Regions from separate parts of the Homo sapiens genome. Here region 1 is linked to region 2. The links are contacts of gene promoters, found by promoter capture Hi-C in human tissues and cell types (Jung and others, 2019). All regions are on one chromosome and are shown on one strand. Each heading gives the region's core, a stretch centred on a gene start or on the middle of the fragment in contact. The rest is flanking DNA. Distances are from core to core; before and after follow the strand shown.

Region 1 (3,663 bases), core at 1-2,500, 150 kb before region 2:
GATGAGAAAAATGTAAAATTGTATTGGCCTTTTAGAACCTTAACATTTTTCCAAATTGGCTCCTCTAAGGATTGCAGTCCCATTTACTTCTACCCCTCCGTGCTCCTCCATCCCCTTTGCCATCTTTGGTACCTAATGAAGGGATCTACAAGGGACTTCTGATGACTTAGAGACCCCTTGGGGAACGCAAAGAAAGGTGCCACGCGCCCCGCTTTTGTCTTCCTTATGGGGCCTGAGGAGTCGTGGGTAGCTTCCTCTCGGGTCTAAAGCTTGGCTGTCTTTGGCACTGTGTCACTGGATCTCTTTGGCTTTGGGGGTACCAGGGATTACGTTGCACTGTGAGACAGTGCATGACCTGAGTGTGTGTGATGGCCGGCAGGTCACTGGCGAGGGCTGCCTCACAGTTTTGGAGGTGGCTGAAAGCAGTTGTAGTGAATGGTTGTTCCTGCAGTGGCTGCTTGTTTCTCTGCATGTTTAGATGAGAAAGGCACAATCTGAACACTTGGAGACTATGGAAGCACTTGGCGTCAAAGGCTGAGACTCCGTGGGCTGATTGCTGTGGGTCTCCCACCAGCCTCAGGGGAATGTCTTCATAGTGAGGTACACTGTGGAAACACTGTATGGCTTTGTCTCATATATATCTCTTTTTAGAGGGAACTCAGCATTCAGTGTAAATGTGGGATCCTTGATTTTAAAAGATCTAGATGCTCTGCCTTCCAGCTGCACCTGTTTTTCACATATTTAAATATTAGGTCCTCCAAACTGCAAATGCTTTTTTGGCCATGTTCATTAATGAGCTCTGTCCTGAGCCCAGTGGTCTAGTTCAAAAATGGAGAATAAATTAATAGCCACATATTTAAATAACATTGTTGTCCTTATAAAATCCTGTGGTGAATTTCTATGACTTTTTGTTACCTCAGCATCCATTTAAAATCTTCCTTTAACATACTAAATCAAAGCTTAAACTTTCTCCCTGTGGAATTGCTTGAACCAAGGAGGCAGAGGTTGCAGTGAGTCAAGATCGTGCCGTTGCACTCCAACCTGGGCGACAGAGCAAGACTCCGTCTTGAAAAAATTCAGTAAATAAAAATAATTTTTTTTTCTCTGTGCTTCAAGATGTAAATTTGTTGCCTTGTTTTCTCTAAAACTTGGTAAGGGCTTTGGCCGTGTGAGACAGATAAATTTTACCTTGTTCCATTTACAGAGGCACAATTTTAAGTATCCTTTTAAACTAGTGATTTTTACCCGATTCGTGGCTAAAATCTTAAAACTAAAGCTATAAAATCTTGATTTGTGTCTGTATTTTTATGTGTACATGCCTGTTTGTATATTATGTACATAGTAGCAAATTGACGTATAAATAAATAAGTGCTCATGAATGATGTAACTAAACCCAGATGCTTTTCTAGTTCATGTGACTAGTAATCTTTGGCAAATAAACTTAGTTTTAAAATTGTTGCTGCTGGGTGCAGTGGCTCACACCTGTAATCCCAGCACTTTGGGAGGCTGAGGCGGGCAAATCACGAGGTCAAGAGATCGAGACCATCCTGGCCAACATGGTGAAACCCCGTCTCTACTAAAAATACAAAAATTAGCCAGGCGTGGTGGCATGCGCCTGTAGTCCTAGCTACTCAGGAGGCTGAGGCAGGAGAATCACTTGAACCTGGGAGGTAGAGGTTGCAGTGAGCCGAGACTGCACTACTGCACTCTAGCCTGGGTGACAGAGTGAGACTCCATCTCAAAAAAAAAAATGATGCTAAAATTAGAATATCTTCAAAGTCGTCAGTCTTAAATATAATTGAGACATCTTTGCTTGGGCCCATTGGTCGGACAGGTTCAGACAGTCTCTGTTAGATGCTTTAAGGTCATAAAATTTGCTTCTGTCATATTTCTGATACTTGCTTAATTTGTCTGTGAACTTAGGTCTTTGGCTTTGAGCCTCTACATTCTGGGGTCAAGACAAGTGGACATGATGTGGCCTGGAGACATCTGTGTGTCCGCAGTACCTAAGCCCCATCCTCCCTGGCCCAGCTGTACCCCCCGGTCATGCTGTTTGTCTGCAGTGCCCGAGCCCCGTCCTCCCTAGCCCAGCTGTGCCCCCCGGCCATACTGTGTGTCTGCAGTGCCTGAGCCCCGTCCTCCCTAGCCCAGCTGTGCGCCCCAGCCATGCTGTGTGTCTGCAGTGCCCGAGCATTGTCCTCTCTTGCCCAGCTGTGCCCCCCGGTCATGCTGTGTGTCTGCAGTGCCCGAGCATTGTCCTCCCTGGCCCAGCTGTGCCCCCCGGTCATGCTGGGAGGGGTTGAGTCCTCCAGGCATTGTCTTTGTAGTAGCCCATTCTCACACTGCTAATAAAGACATACCTGAGACTGGGTGATTTGTAAAGGAAAGAGGTTTAATTGACTCACAGTTCAGCGTGGCTGGGAAGCCTCAGGAAACTTACAATCATGGCGGAAGAGGAAGCAAACACGTTCTTCACATGAGGTCAGGAAGGAGGTGTGCAGAGCGAAGAGTGGGGAAGCACCTCATGAAACCATGAGACCTCGTGAGAACTCACTAGCACAAAAACAGCGTGGGGGAACCGCCCCCTTCATCTAATCACCTCCCACTGGGTCCCTCCCACAACACCTGTGGATTTTGGGAACTACAGTTCAAGATGAGATTTGGGTGGGGACACAGCCAAACCATATCAGTCTTTAAAGCTCTGTCCTTTGTCCTGGGCTTTGCATCTTTAATAACAATTAAAATTGCTTACTTCCCATGTTTTTCACTGAAAATTAGGCTTCCTAAGAGTTAACATTGTAATTAATATATGTATTTAAAACTACTAGATATAAGAGAAACACTTCTGTATGCAAAGTTTATAAGAAAGTAGGATGTGTTTTTGGTAAGGAAGGTTATAAAGAAGGCATGAGAATGAGGTTTTTGTTAAAGGAAAAGTAATTTTGTCTAGTTTTGATGTTTTTAAAGGTTGTTTTAAATTAAAGGAATAAAAAAATGATAGATAAAACTGAATATATATAGAAAGTTTGAGAAACAAAGAATGGAACAAATTTTAAGAGGTTATTAAAGGTTTATGGAAATCTTATGTGGTCAAAGCTGATTGAGATTGAATGGATCTGTTTTTAAGTTTTTATTAAAATTAGCTTTAGTATTAATAATATGCTAATGTAAAGGTAGAATTTAGTTTTCATTTTTGAGTAAGATTTTCATGTAGTATTAATAAGAGACAGTAAAAGATTTTTGTTTACCTTTTGAGTAAACTACAAGAAAAGGAGGAGTAGGCCCGGTACGGTGGTTCACACCTGTAATCCCAGCACTTTGGGAGGCCGAGGTGGGTGGATCACCTGAGGTCAGGCGTTTGAGACTAGCCTGGCCAAGATGGTGAAACCCCATCTCTACTAAAAATACAAAAATTAGCCAGGCGTGGTGGCGCCTGCCTGTAGTCCCAGCTACTCAGGAGGCCGAGGCAGGAGAATCGCTTGAACCCGGGAGGCGGAGGTTGCAGTGAGCTGAGATTGTGCCACTGCACTCCAGCCTGGGCAACAAGAGTGAGACTCTGTCTCACAAAAAAAAAGGAGGAGTAGAGAGTTTGCCTCATGCTGTCTTTATTTATTTATTTATTATTTTGGAGACAGGATCTTGCTGTGCCACCCAGGCTCATCT
Region 2 (3,936 bases), core at 1,396-3,895:
ACCCTCACTTTTACTGTACAGGCGTGCTGTTGAGGATGGTCAAAGTAACTATAAAATACTAAACCAGAGGCCGGGCGCGGTGGCTCATGCCTATAATCCCAGCACTTTCGGAGGCTGAGGTGGGCGGATCACAAGGTCCGGAGATCAAGACCATCCTGGCTAATAAGGTGAAGCCCCGTCTCTACTAAAAATACAAAAATAAAATTAGCTGGGTGTGGTGGCAGGCGCCTGTAGTCCTAGCTACTCGCAAGGCTGTGGCAGGAGAATGGCGTGAACCCGGGAGGCGGAGCTTGCAGTGAGCCGAGATCACGTCACTGCACTCCAGCCTGGGGGACAGAGCGAGACTCCGTCTCAAAAAAAAAAAAAAAAAAACTAAACCAGAGCTGCAGTATGTGATTGTGTGGTGGGGAAGAGAGAGAGAGAGAGAGAGAGACAGAGAATTCAAATTCATGGAGATGGCCTAAAAACCAGCAAAGCCCCCAGAGAATTATTCACAGCTACCTGAGTCAAAGGACTTGATTATAAAAATGAAGGTAGAAACCAAGGTGGGCCTGGAGTACTTGGGAGATAAACGTGACCACTTCTCTGGGCAGGGGCAAGTGTACCGTCATGCTATGAAGGCAGAAATGGACATGTGCCCTCAGCAGTCCTAGGCGTGAGAACTAGGACGTCTCATGGAGACAAGCTGGCAGCACGGCAGAGCCTCCCTTCACCTCTCCGGGTGGCACGTAGGCACCGAAATTCATTACAAGAAGAAGCCAGTCTTCACAATGATTATAGTCAATCGTCAGTTCTACCCAGTTTTCTCTATTTCAGAGAGTCCCTCCAAGAAAGCATCTTTACCACCTTTACCCAATCTGTCACGGTGGCATAGTCACTTTTGTCTTTCCATTCCCACTCCCCGCCCTTGCCATCCCTCAGCCCACAAACCACATACAATGTCCTCAGTTGCTCCACACGTTCTCTCAGGGCTCAGAGGAAACATTCAAATTCCTCAGTCCTTATGACCTGCCCCCTCCACCTGACACACACAACGGCTCACGTGATTCCCCTCGTTCCCCCATGAACATCTGGGCTCCAGCCAAGACTGCTCCTTCACCAGCCCCAAGAAGCCATGCTCCTCTGCCTCTGGAGGACTTTTTAAATGACCTGGACCCTCTCTGGGGCTGGTATTTATTCCCTAATCTCCCAACATACTTGGATTTGCCCACTGCGCTGTCTCCCAGGCAGATGATCTTCACGTTGTCATCAGCATCATACTTCCCTTGGTCCAACTCACTCGGTTTGGTTTTGTCTTCTGCCATTGGCTCCTAGCTGTAGAGAGGGGTCCAGCCCAAGGGAGGGGAGGGTATTGTCACTGTCTGGGAAGATCAACAAGAGGCTGTTGTCAGAGATAAGTCCCCTCAACCAAATCTCCAGCTGTACCTCCCTCCAGACTGCTTCCCTCAGTGCCAGACTGAGATATGGTATGCAATTGACTACTAGACTTGGAGTAGCAGAGTATGACACACAGGCATCAATAATATGTTATACACAAATAGTTAAGTCCTGCGCACCCCAAATGCTGCTCCTCACGTTACCCATTTGCACAAGACATTCACCAGGCATCCAGTGCCAAAGGCTGTGTGCAACATTATGTCTAGCTCTGTTTTACTCTCCTCACACCTAAATATGACTTTGCAAACATTCCTGAGAATGTAACCACAGTCCAGACTCTTAGCTAGGGGGGCACATAGAAATGATATGATGATGAGACAGCAGCAATAGGTGAGCCTTACTGGGCATTCACCATGAGCAGACCTTGCACAGGGTTCAGAGGATGGAAGACACAATGATAGCAGAGTCTACTGTGGTGAGAGCTACGACAGAAGTATGCACACGGGTCAGGGGTAGAAAATACCAACAGGGCCCCCGAGTTTTCCTGACTGTGCCACCACACAGCTACTGCTTCTGCACAGCCAGGGACTTCGCCTTGTTTATCCAGGGAGACAATTCCTGGGAAGTGGCAGATGCCTGGAAAGCATGATGAGGGGTCTGCCCCCTTTCACCTGTACCCTGTAGAGAGAGCGACAGAAAGCCAAATCCAGCTTCATGGCTCCATGCTTGAAGACGTTCTTTCTTTTGTTTAGAGATAGGGTCTCACTCTGTCGCCCAGGCTGGAGTGCGGTGGCGCGATCACGGCTCACTGCAGCCTCCAACTCCTGGACTCAAGCGATCCTCCCTCCTCGGCATCCCTGGACTATAGGCGTGAGCCACCGCTTACGGGCGAAGACTTGCTTGTCCGTGTCCTTGCCATCTAAGTGGGTAAGCTATCTTTCGATAAATGTTTTTGGCCACCAACCATGTCCAGGCATCGCCAGGCTGCCCGTCCCGCCCCCCACAACAGCCTCGCGAAGCCACCTTTCCGTGCTTCCCCCGACCCGGACGCCCTCTCGCCCACACCGCTAGGGAGGCCTCGGAGGGGCTGTCCCCGCGTGCTAAGCCAGCCACCGGGGCGGATTTGCCCTCACGTGCGGTTCCGAGTGAGGGCTGGAGAGACCAGGGACGCTGCGGGTCGGCCCCTCGGGCCCTGCCGCCAGTCTGGACTCTGCGCGCTCTCGAACCACGCCCGCCGGCCCAGCTCGCGCCGCAGCGCACTCCACTTCCGGCTCGGCCCGCGTCCTCGCAGCTGCTACGCAACCGCACAAGGACCCCGAGGGAGGCTGCCCGGCCGAAGGCCTGAAGGACCCCGCCGGGGCGCTGGCTGCCCAGCGCGGCGCCTGGCGGGAGGGCCGCAGGGAGTGCGCATGCGGCCGAGTGCGGGACTGGGGCTCCTGGCTGTGGGTGTGGTACCGAGGCTTCAGCGGGTGCCGCCCGCCTAGAGGGAGTGGAGCGGTGAGCACGTCAGGGGTGGGGGGCGCAGGTCAAGCTTTCACCAGTTTTTAATTCTTTGATGGGGTAAATTTGAGCAATTTTCTCGACTTGTCGACATTCGTTATTAACTGAGCAGGAATCAGGAGAGGAACCCGGTCCTCTCCACACAGCCCAGCAGGTACGCCGCCCATGTGCCTGTGGAGAAGAGAGGTTCCTGTGGGGCAGACAGGTGTGGACCAAGTAGCTGCGAAATTTCTTCTGAAGAAAACACACAAGGGGGAAGCGAGTGAGCTCAGTGGAGGAGGGGCGCTACCCCAGGGGACGTCCCCATGCATGGGCTTGTGAACCTCGAATATGTGAGACGGTCTCAGTCAATTTAGAAAGTTTATTTTGCCAAGGTTGAGGACGCACGCCCGTGACACAGCCTCAGGAGGTCTTGACATGTGCCAAAGGTGGCCGGGACACAGCTTGCTTTTATACATGTTAGGGAGACAGGAGACATCAATATATGTAAGATGAACGTTGGTTCCCTCGGGAAAGGCGGGACAACTCGAAGCAGGGAGGGGGCTTCCAGGTCACAGGTAGGTGAGAGACAAACTGTTGTATTCTTTCGGGTTTCTGAATAGCCTCCGCAAAGGAGGCTATCACATATTAACCTATCTCAGTGAGCAGAGGGGTGACTTTGAATAGATGGGGAGGCAGGTTTGCCCTAAGCAGTTCCCAGCTTTTTTCCCTTTAGCTTAGTGATTTTGGGGCCCCCAGATTCATTTTCCTTTCACAGGCTAGACAGCTTTAGGAACTGAAAGGTTCACGAGGCTGTAACGAAGAGTCGAGTTGCTCCAGGTGAGCCTGGGCCACAACAGCACGCAGGACCTGGGCGCCCACGAGGGGCTCCTGGGAGGGTTTGGGAAAGGGATGTGTGAACCCTATCTGAGATGGTTTCAGGTAATTTAGAAAGAGGTGCACCCGTGACACAGCCTCAGGAGGTCTTGACGACATGTGCCCAAGGTGGTCAGGGCACAGCTTGGTTTTAGGGAGACATGAGACATCAATCAATATATGTAAGAAGTACGTTGCTTCCAT

The links. Contacts are between HindIII fragments. The study calls those that stand out against the background at their distance.
Region 1: a contact is called between a fragment that was not itself captured here and the fragment with the promoter of RABL2B in region 2, in 2 of the 25 tissues and cell types used here (dorsolateral prefrontal cortex and mesenchymal stem cells).

The regions. Positions count from the first base shown.
Region 1 is chr22:50,633,620-50,637,282 of GRCh38, forward strand. LOC124905149 (a long non-coding RNA gene) reads left to right here. Exons shown (of 2, transcript XR_007068161.1): 1 at 1-1,079; 2 at 1,924-2,387. Among named protein-coding and RNA genes, the nearest start is that of ARSA, 7.3 kb to the left of the region's middle. RefSeq lists enhancers at 1,643-2,159, 2,160-2,674. The HindIII fragment of the contact is 5,037 bases long and covers 1-3,663 here.
Region 2 is chr22:50,780,991-50,784,926 of GRCh38, forward strand. It overlaps RABL2B (RAB, member of RAS oncogene family like 2B), which reads right to left and starts at 2,646. Exons shown (of 9, transcript NM_001130919.3): 1 at 2,511-2,646; 2 at 1,198-1,357. The coding sequence starts at 1,304. It also overlaps the pseudogene RPL23AP82. RefSeq lists a silencer at 2,578-2,817. The HindIII fragment of the contact is 9,824 bases long and covers 1-3,936 here.